Regions from separate parts of the Homo sapiens genome. Here region 2 is linked to region 1. Evidence: promoter capture Hi-C in 16 types of primary human blood cells and fetal thymus (Javierre and others, 2016). All regions are on one chromosome and are shown on one strand. The core of a region is centred on a gene start or on the middle of the fragment in contact, and the rest is flanking DNA. Distances in the headings are between cores, read along the strand shown.

Evidence for each region. Contacts are between HindIII fragments. The CHiCAGO score rates a contact against its expected background, and 5 or more counts as called.
Region 2: a contact is called between a fragment that was not itself captured here and the fragment with the promoter of POLR1A in region 1, in 1 of 17 cell types (fetal thymus). The highest score is 5.3, in fetal thymus.

The regions. Positions count from the first base shown.
Region 1 is chr2:86,104,259-86,108,208 of GRCh38, reverse strand. It overlaps POLR1A (RNA polymerase I subunit A), which reads left to right and starts at 2,323. Exons shown (of 34, transcript NM_015425.6): 1 at 2,323-2,509. The coding sequence starts at 2,433. It overlaps PTCD3 (pentatricopeptide repeat domain 3), which reads right to left and starts at 1,974. Exons shown (of 24, transcript NM_017952.6): 1 at 1,858-1,974. The coding sequence starts at 1,961. RefSeq lists enhancers at 1,664-1,923, 2,304-2,513, 2,714-2,803. The HindIII fragment of the contact is 4,349 bases long and covers 1,595-3,950 here.
Region 2 is chr2:86,619,039-86,622,988 of GRCh38, reverse strand. It overlaps RNF103-CHMP3 (RNF103-CHMP3 readthrough), which reads left to right. Exons shown (of 8, transcript NM_001198954.1): 3 at 2,520-2,659. The coding sequence starts at 2,528. It overlaps RNF103 (ring finger protein 103), which reads left to right. Exons shown (of 4, transcript NM_005667.4): 1 at 1-328; 2 at 2,520-2,659. The coding sequence starts at 103. Among named protein-coding and RNA genes, the nearest start is that of RNF103, 2.9 kb to the left of the region's middle. RefSeq lists silencers at 1-73, 254-303. The HindIII fragment of the contact is 3,027 bases long and covers 465-3,491 here.

The DNA.
Region 1 (3,950 bases), core at 1,074-3,573:
AGTCTGTACACATGTTCAATATCATTAAGGAATGGATACAAGATATGGACAAGACTGTCAAAACTTTTTTTTTTTTTTTTTTAGAGACAGGGTCTTGCTCCATTGCCTAGCCTTTAGTGAAGTAGTGCAATTATAGCTCACTGAACCCTTGAACTCCTGGGCTCAAGTGACCCTCCTGCTTCAGCCTCCTGAGTAACTAGGACTACAGGCATATGCCACCATGCCCGGCTAGACAAAAGTTTTGGAAGCAAGCAATCTCATTACATAAATGGCAGAGAGGGAGGAAAGTTTTTAATAGCACTTGAACAATCTGGTTTGAAATGAAGAACTTTCAACTTCAGGAACCCAAAACACTATGATGTTTAAAAGAACAATTCAGTGAGCTCTTGCTTCTATACAGATACTGCCCTGATCAGAAAGGACTACCTCACTTAAAGCAATTACAACATAGGGAAGATGACCCATGGCTTCTCATTCCACTTCTTTCAACAATCAAGAATGTACCAAATACATAAGGCCTGATTTAGACTTGGAATTGCTGATATTTTCTATTTTCAGAGGTTCAATATGAAATCCTTTTTAAACCAAAATATAGAATCATTGGCCCATGACTGAGTTTTTAAGTGTTCTGTTTAAGTGTTCTGATCACACTAAAAACACAGTCAACACACCACAGATAATGTGACGGTTAGTATTATCTTGTGTTTCCCCTTACTAAATGGCATCAGTAACATTCAGAAAATTGTCAAGATGTGATTGCACAGACAGATACTTCCTCCAGTAGTATCTGGTTTCAGGTATCATTTAAAACAAGAATACCCCTCTACGTTAAGGACATTTCAGAAAGAGATCAACTCTTTCAAGTTTCTGAGATCAACTCTTTCAAGTCACACTATTTGTTTCTCATGACCTTAAAACAGAGATCACAGTTATTTTGAGAACGGATGCTGAGGAAGAGATTCTGCTTCAGGCAAAGAAAATGAGTAGAAAAATGCTAACGATGGCTACCAGGAAACGGAGGACTGGCATTGAATGGCAGCACAAAGGTTTCTGCAGTATCAGATGGAGTGGTTTCTCTTTCTTGAGGGGAACTAAGGGAGAGTACATATAAAAACATATTGTAAATTACATACCCCACTTATACCTCACAAACTTTTCGGATGGTTATTACCAACTCTAGTCTGCAGATGAGGAAATCTGTCTATTATCATCCAATTAAGTGAATGGCAAACACTAAACCTAAAATTAGGCTTTTAGCAAGTTTTCACTACAAATTACTGCCTCTCATATTCCCACAATGCCACTGTTTGTACTGAGTGAAAAAAAAATTACACAGATAGGTCATACATGTTCCAAGCTATAACTATCACAGATCAAAAGGGCATAGTCAGATCTTTTAGACTTTTCTGCTTTTACGAAAACCTGATAACTTCTTTAGCCAAAGTCCCCACGGTGGCGACCAGAGACTGCCTTTTATTTGGGAAGATCTTGTACGTTCTCCTCGCTCCTCCTGATTGGGTTAAAATGAGTAATGGCGGATAATTTTTAATTTGGGGTAGTGTTGCTAATAGCCACACTCACTGGAACGCAAGCTTCATGAGAGCAGGGTCCTAGCTTTGCGGATGGTGTTAACTACAGAATATTGCAAGCAACCAATAAGTATTTCTCTAATGAATAAATGCGTTGCGAATCCTATTTCAAAGGGCCACCTCCGCGTACCTGGTCTTAAGGGCACGCGACCGTTAAGGGCGCGCATGAGCAAACCATTTCATCGTGCCTACTTCCACAGCCAGCTGGGAAACATAGGACTAAGGTGACTCCGCGGTCTTCTTCGCGGATACCCTAAGCGTCTCTTACCTGCAGCTGCGTGCCTGTTCACACAAACCCGCCCGCCGACCCGTCAGCGGCTGGCCAAGCCTGCTGCGGAGGCCCAGCCAGCGAACAGCAGATACAACCGCCATCTTTGATTTCTCTGCAGAGCATGTTGGGAAAGCGTGCCTCGACCTTCAGGAAGGTGGGGCGCAGTGGGCGGGGAGCAGGGAACAGCTCCGCTATTGGCTGAAGCGGAAGAAGACGAAAGCAATCATAAAATGGGAGGTTGCAAGCTCATGGTTTGAAAGACTTCGTCACGGAAGCTAAAAGCTCTATACACCCGATTTGCCTCGGAGGAATTTTCCTAAATGATTATTTTGATGTCTTATATATCTTTGATTGTTTTCAAAACAAAAGAGCGAGCAGAGAGTCGTACAACTATTTGTTCCCCCCCCATGTAGAAGTGATCTCATCCACGTAAATGTCGTTCCTGCGACCGCTTCCGCGCGCAAGCGCACGTTGAATCGCGTGGTGACTCCGGGCTTGAGGTTGAATTAAGAATAGTCAGGTGGTGAGTGGAACGTCTCTTGGGGTGTCGGAATTCAAAACGGACCTGGAGGATGTTGATCTCCAAGAACATGCCCTGGCGGCGGCTGCAGGGCATTTCCTTCGGGATGTATTCGGCTGAAGAGCTCAAGTAAGGAGTTGGTCGGGTAGCGTGCCCAGCCTGGATCTTGAGGTCGGCGCCCTAAACTACGATTCCCAGAAGCGCTTTTGCCCAGTCTATCCTCTTGAGTCCAGGCTTGTCTGGCGCTTGTCCTGCTGGGAGCCGTAGTTCTGGGAACGTTCCTGGGCCGGCGTGGACTGCCTGGATAAGAGGCCGGTGGTGCTGGGGGAAAGAGTTTGCGCTGAGGTAGGGGAATATAAGGGTGGGGAGGGTCCTGGTCTGCAGCGTTATCATCTGCCAGTCTCCTCGTTAACTAACAAGCATTTGTGGAATTAACCATAGTGTACCTGACATGGTTAATTAGGCACGTAGTAAGTTTCCTCTTGTTTGTAAAATGATTGTCCTTCAAGTGTCAGTTCAGGCGTTAACTTCTCTTTGCTAGGACCCTGCTATATTCTCGGTCTGGTTGTTAAATCAAGGGAACTCTCTTTAGTCTTCATTTTGATCAAGGTAGCATTTGACATTCTCCAATGCACTCTCTTGAAACTTTCCTTTCTTCCAGAACCTTATTTGTCTTCAAGTTCTCCTATTTTTATGACAAATACTTCTACCTCCCTCTCTTCCTCTATCGATCTATAACCTCACAAACATTTATTGAGCATCCAGTTTTTTCCAGGCACCAAGCTAGGCGTTAATGACACATTGGTGAGCAAGGTCTGTACCTCATTTTACTCCTTAAATGTTGATGTTCTTCAAGATTCTATTCTAGTAATGTTTTCTTCATGGTAAATATTGTCCCTAGACAATCTCACCACTTTCATGATTTATAGTCTCAAATTTAAATCCCCAACGCAAATTTATTTCCCTGATTTTCAGACCCATTTGTTCAGCTGTCTGTACATCTTTAATTGAATTTCACACAGAGATCTTAAATGCATATCAAAAACTCAACATGGCCTAAATGCATATCAGAAACTCAACATGGCCGGGCACGGTGGCTCACGCCTGTAATCCCAGCACTTTGGGAGGCCGAGGCCGGCGGATCACGAGGTCGGGAGATCGAGACCATCCCTGGCCAACATGGTGAAACCCCGTCTCTACTAAAAATACAAAAATTAGCTGGGCGTGGTGGCGGGCACCTGTAGTCCCAGTTACTCGGGAGGCTGAGGCAGGAGAATCGCTTGAACCCAGGAGGCGGAGGTTGCAGTGAGCCGAGATTGTGCCACTGCACTCCAGCCTGGCGACAGAGCAATACTCTGTCTCAAAAAAAAAAAAAAAAAAACTCAACACGGCATCCCTCTTCAAAGGGAGGGGTTACTTACCCCTCCAAAATGGTGTACGTAGTGCAAAATAGTCACTAGAAACTGGAAAATTATTCTAGATCTCTCCTGACATATAACTTATTTATTGGGCTCTTACTTTGTGTCACCTACATGTCTATTTGTTCTTAGTCTCCTTTTTCTCCCAATTG
Region 2 (3,950 bases), core at 729-3,228, 520 kb before region 1:
CGGGGCCCTCGCCCAAGCTGCCACCGAGCCGCGGCCCCCGCCCTCGACCCTTCTCTCTCCCGTATTCCGAGCTCTCTGGAAAGAGAGGAAACTCCAGGGAAGATGTGGCTGAAGCTTTTTTTCTTGCTCCTCTATTTCCTGGTCCTGTTCGTCCTGGCCAGGTTTTTTGAGGCCATTGTGTGGTATGAAACTGGCATCTTTGCCACCCAGCTGGTGGATCCGGTGGCGCTGAGCTTCAAGAAGCTGAAGACCATTTTGGAGTGCCGGGGGTTGGGCTACTCAGGGTTGCCCGAGAAGAAGGATGTCCGGGAGCTGGTGGAAAAGTCAGGCGAGTATCGGGCTTCCCCTAGGGTCCCCTCCACCTGGGAGAGGGGACGACCTGTACCTCCTGGTACCTGGCTGTTCCCCCAGAGTGAGGCCTTTCCTGGAAGCGTTAAAGCTGCCCAGGTTTCTTCGTCCAAGCTTCCTACAATCAAGTATGCGGATCCCAGCTTTGAGGAGGAGTCTGAAATTATTTGGAGGAGTGTTGGTGTATCCTTTTAAGGTTATCGTAAAATGACAGTTTAAAGTGTGGCTTCTTAGCGTTGTTTACTAAGTTGAGTGATTTTCTCAAAATTCTGGAATATCAACTAGTTACAAACTGGAAAGCATTATTTGTCAGTTGAAGTTCATAAAAACGTAAGAAAAACTCCAAAACGTTGTCTGTCAATAGCAATATTTGTCACGATAGTAATAATAAGATACCCAGAGTGGGGACACATCTTTGGAATACTTACTATCAGAGGCACTTGGGCCTAGGATTTAAATGTTAAATCATGAGTTTGAATATAGACAGTATACACCGTACAGTATTAGCTTTTCAGACTTTAAGTTTGGTGAAAATAAGGCGAGCATTTTGTATAAATGCCTGCCATGTTCGAGTTTATATTATATTTCTGTTAGGATTTTTAAAAATTTGCATCTTGGATGTGTAAAAGAAAAATTTTTTTTGTCTTCTGTGTCACAGGTACCCTTGCATTGTTTAATGGGTTGAGAAATATACGTGAAATAGTGCTGAGAGAATATTCAATGTCTTAAAGAATGTGTTTTTAGTAATTGTTGGTTTTGGTAGGATTGGGTGAGAAATATGGTTAATTTTTTTCACTGCTGCACAAAGTATATCTTTGGATATACTTCCTGAAAGTGGAATGTAATTTGAGAAAGGCTTTCTGCGTTGCTGTGGGAAGCAGCTGAAACTGATGGTTATCTTTTTTGTTGTTTCAAGTATTTTTGTCAGCTGTATCTTTTACAAGACAAATCTTTTCCTTCTTTAGTACCTTATAGACATGTAGCGTGATAGACAAGAGTATGAGCTCGCTAGCAGTTTAACACTTGGATATTTGTAGGTTGCGGGTTATAAAACTCATATCTCACTATTAGGGTAGAGGAGAGGAACACACTCTGCAGAAGTGATAAATGTTTCTTTAGAGAAAATATAAAATCGTATATTATTCTTGCCCCTTGTTTGCTGACTGGTTTATGGCGATTCTTATTTCTACCATAGGGGGAAGAAGTGGAGTAACTAGGGTAAAAGATCTCTAATAAATAAACTCTCTTGGTTTAGAGATGAGAAGTGTCTCAACTGCCAAAGCCATCATTTTTTTATGGAAAATAATTTGGTCACACATTTTTTTTTCTTTTGACTGTTATTTATTATTGCCTTCTTTTGGGCCTAAAAATACTTGGCACATTGAATGTACTAGAAGTCCACATTTAACTTTAAGACGCACAGCCCAGTATGACTCAAATCACACGTTTTATGGCAGAAAAGTCATGGTATAGCAGTTTAAAATTTAAGTGTTTATTGTGAATGGTTTTGCTGCTATCATGGTGCAGTACTTGGTTTCTCACTGTTTAATATTTAAGGCGAAAGTTAAAATAATTTGATTTTAGTGTTTTCCTTTCCTTTTTGTTTAATGATACAAGCTCTAAATTTATAATATAAATTTGTATATGAATATGGAGTTTGTTCTGTCTAACAGGTAAAGTTCTAACCTCCAAGTCATACAAACCCTGTTGCTCTTTTAAGCAGGGCTGATGGCAAATTCTGTGAACCCAATTCTACATCTTTTAAGTAAGAAGCATATAAGCCATACTGTTTAAAAATGTATATGAAGCCTGTATGTGTCATTCATAAAACTAAATAATTAAGAAAGTTGTGCCTTTTTGGAGTGGTACAAATTTGGTAAGTTCCTAATAATTATGTGATAACCCCACTAAAATATAAGCCCTGTTCTATAAGAGATGGATTTTTGTCTATTTTGTTCACTTTTCCCTGATGCATAGGAAGTTCTTACTACATATTTATTGAATGTATGACTCCTAAGTGGGTATATCCAGGTTCTTCTAGTAGTTCTTGTCTATAAAATACAATGAAAGTACAATATCATGATTCTTAACAGTGTAAAAAATAGAATTACTGAAATTGGGAATCTAGGATTCTTGCAACCTTATTAGTGTTATTCTTTTCCTTTCTTCAGGTGACTTGATGGAGGGTGAGCTCTATTCTGCTCTCAAGGAAGAAGAAGCATCCGAATCGGTTTCTAGTACCAATTTCAGTGGTGAAATGCACTTCTATGAGCTTGTGGAAGACACAAAAGATGGCATCTGGCTGGTTCAGGTATGAAAAGCAGTAATAATTTGATAATTCGAGAGCCCTAAAAAAATTATTTTTACCAAAATAGTATGTACCAGCCAGTGACACTTCCGTGTCCTTGTGTCTTGTTTCTCACACATAACTCAGTTCTCTTAGGGAGGCTCCAGTATCTTCTTAAAAAGGTTTTGGAGACTGAGGAAGATGAAAATTGAGTAGTGGGAAAGAGAAAGATGGGGGATGGGGGTCAACTTTTTGTTTAGAATCCCCAGAAGCAAATCTATTTTAGTTATTGGACCTTTGTTGAATTGAGAAATACACATATATATCCCTTTTATTTAGTGATTTGCACTGTTTCTCTTAGTTTTTATTATCTCCAGTTTTTAATTCAGTGGCCTGAGTAATTTTTATATATAAGTAAGAACCCTAAAGTAAAAGTAAAGGAATCATTGTATTAGGGAAATAGCCAACTTTGTGACTATAGAGGAGCTGTTGTGGAAAATGGTGGGGGTGCTCATTACGTAACTCAGGATGATGAGATTATAATTTTTAACCCTTGTTTTTATGATAGCAAAACTGTGAGACTTAATTAGCATATTAGAATTTTAGAGCTATGATGGACCTTAAAAATATTTTATGCTTTCCAAGATGTAATTTATGGTGAGTGGGCATGCATTATCATTTACATATTTTAATGTAAATTAGAAAAATTATATTAACATAAATTTCATAAATTTTGCTTAGGACAGGACTAAAGTTATTTACATTTTAAAACTGTACATTCAAAGTGACATATCAAGTAAATTAACAGCGTGAATGTGGCTAAAATTATTAATGTAGTCTGTGAATGGCTGAAGCTTGGAAATTATATCAGACTAACCCTTTCTGAGACTCTGAGAGGTGAAGTAGCTTGCCCAAGGTCATGGAACTAGTTGGTAGTATTGAACCAGGATGAAACCCAGGTCTTCTGATTTCTTGACTGGTACTCTTATCATTTCACACTGGAGTGGGCAAAGTTTGATTCAGGGCATGAAAATTAAAACAGTTTCTTCATATTTCTTTCTGAGAGTAAAGACTGCAAAATATGGTAGGAAAAGCTATGAGTTCAGAGACATTAGTTGCAGGTCTGGTACTGTCGCTGTTACAGGTCTGGTACTGTCACTGACTAGCAGTATGATTGTAAATAGGTATATTTTTCTGTTGCACGTGGCCTCAAATAAATACATATACATCTAAAAAGGATAAAATGGTACTGTAGTCCACTGTGCTAAAGGGTTGAGGTTTGGGAATTCTTCCAGAGATTTACATTGTTCATCCA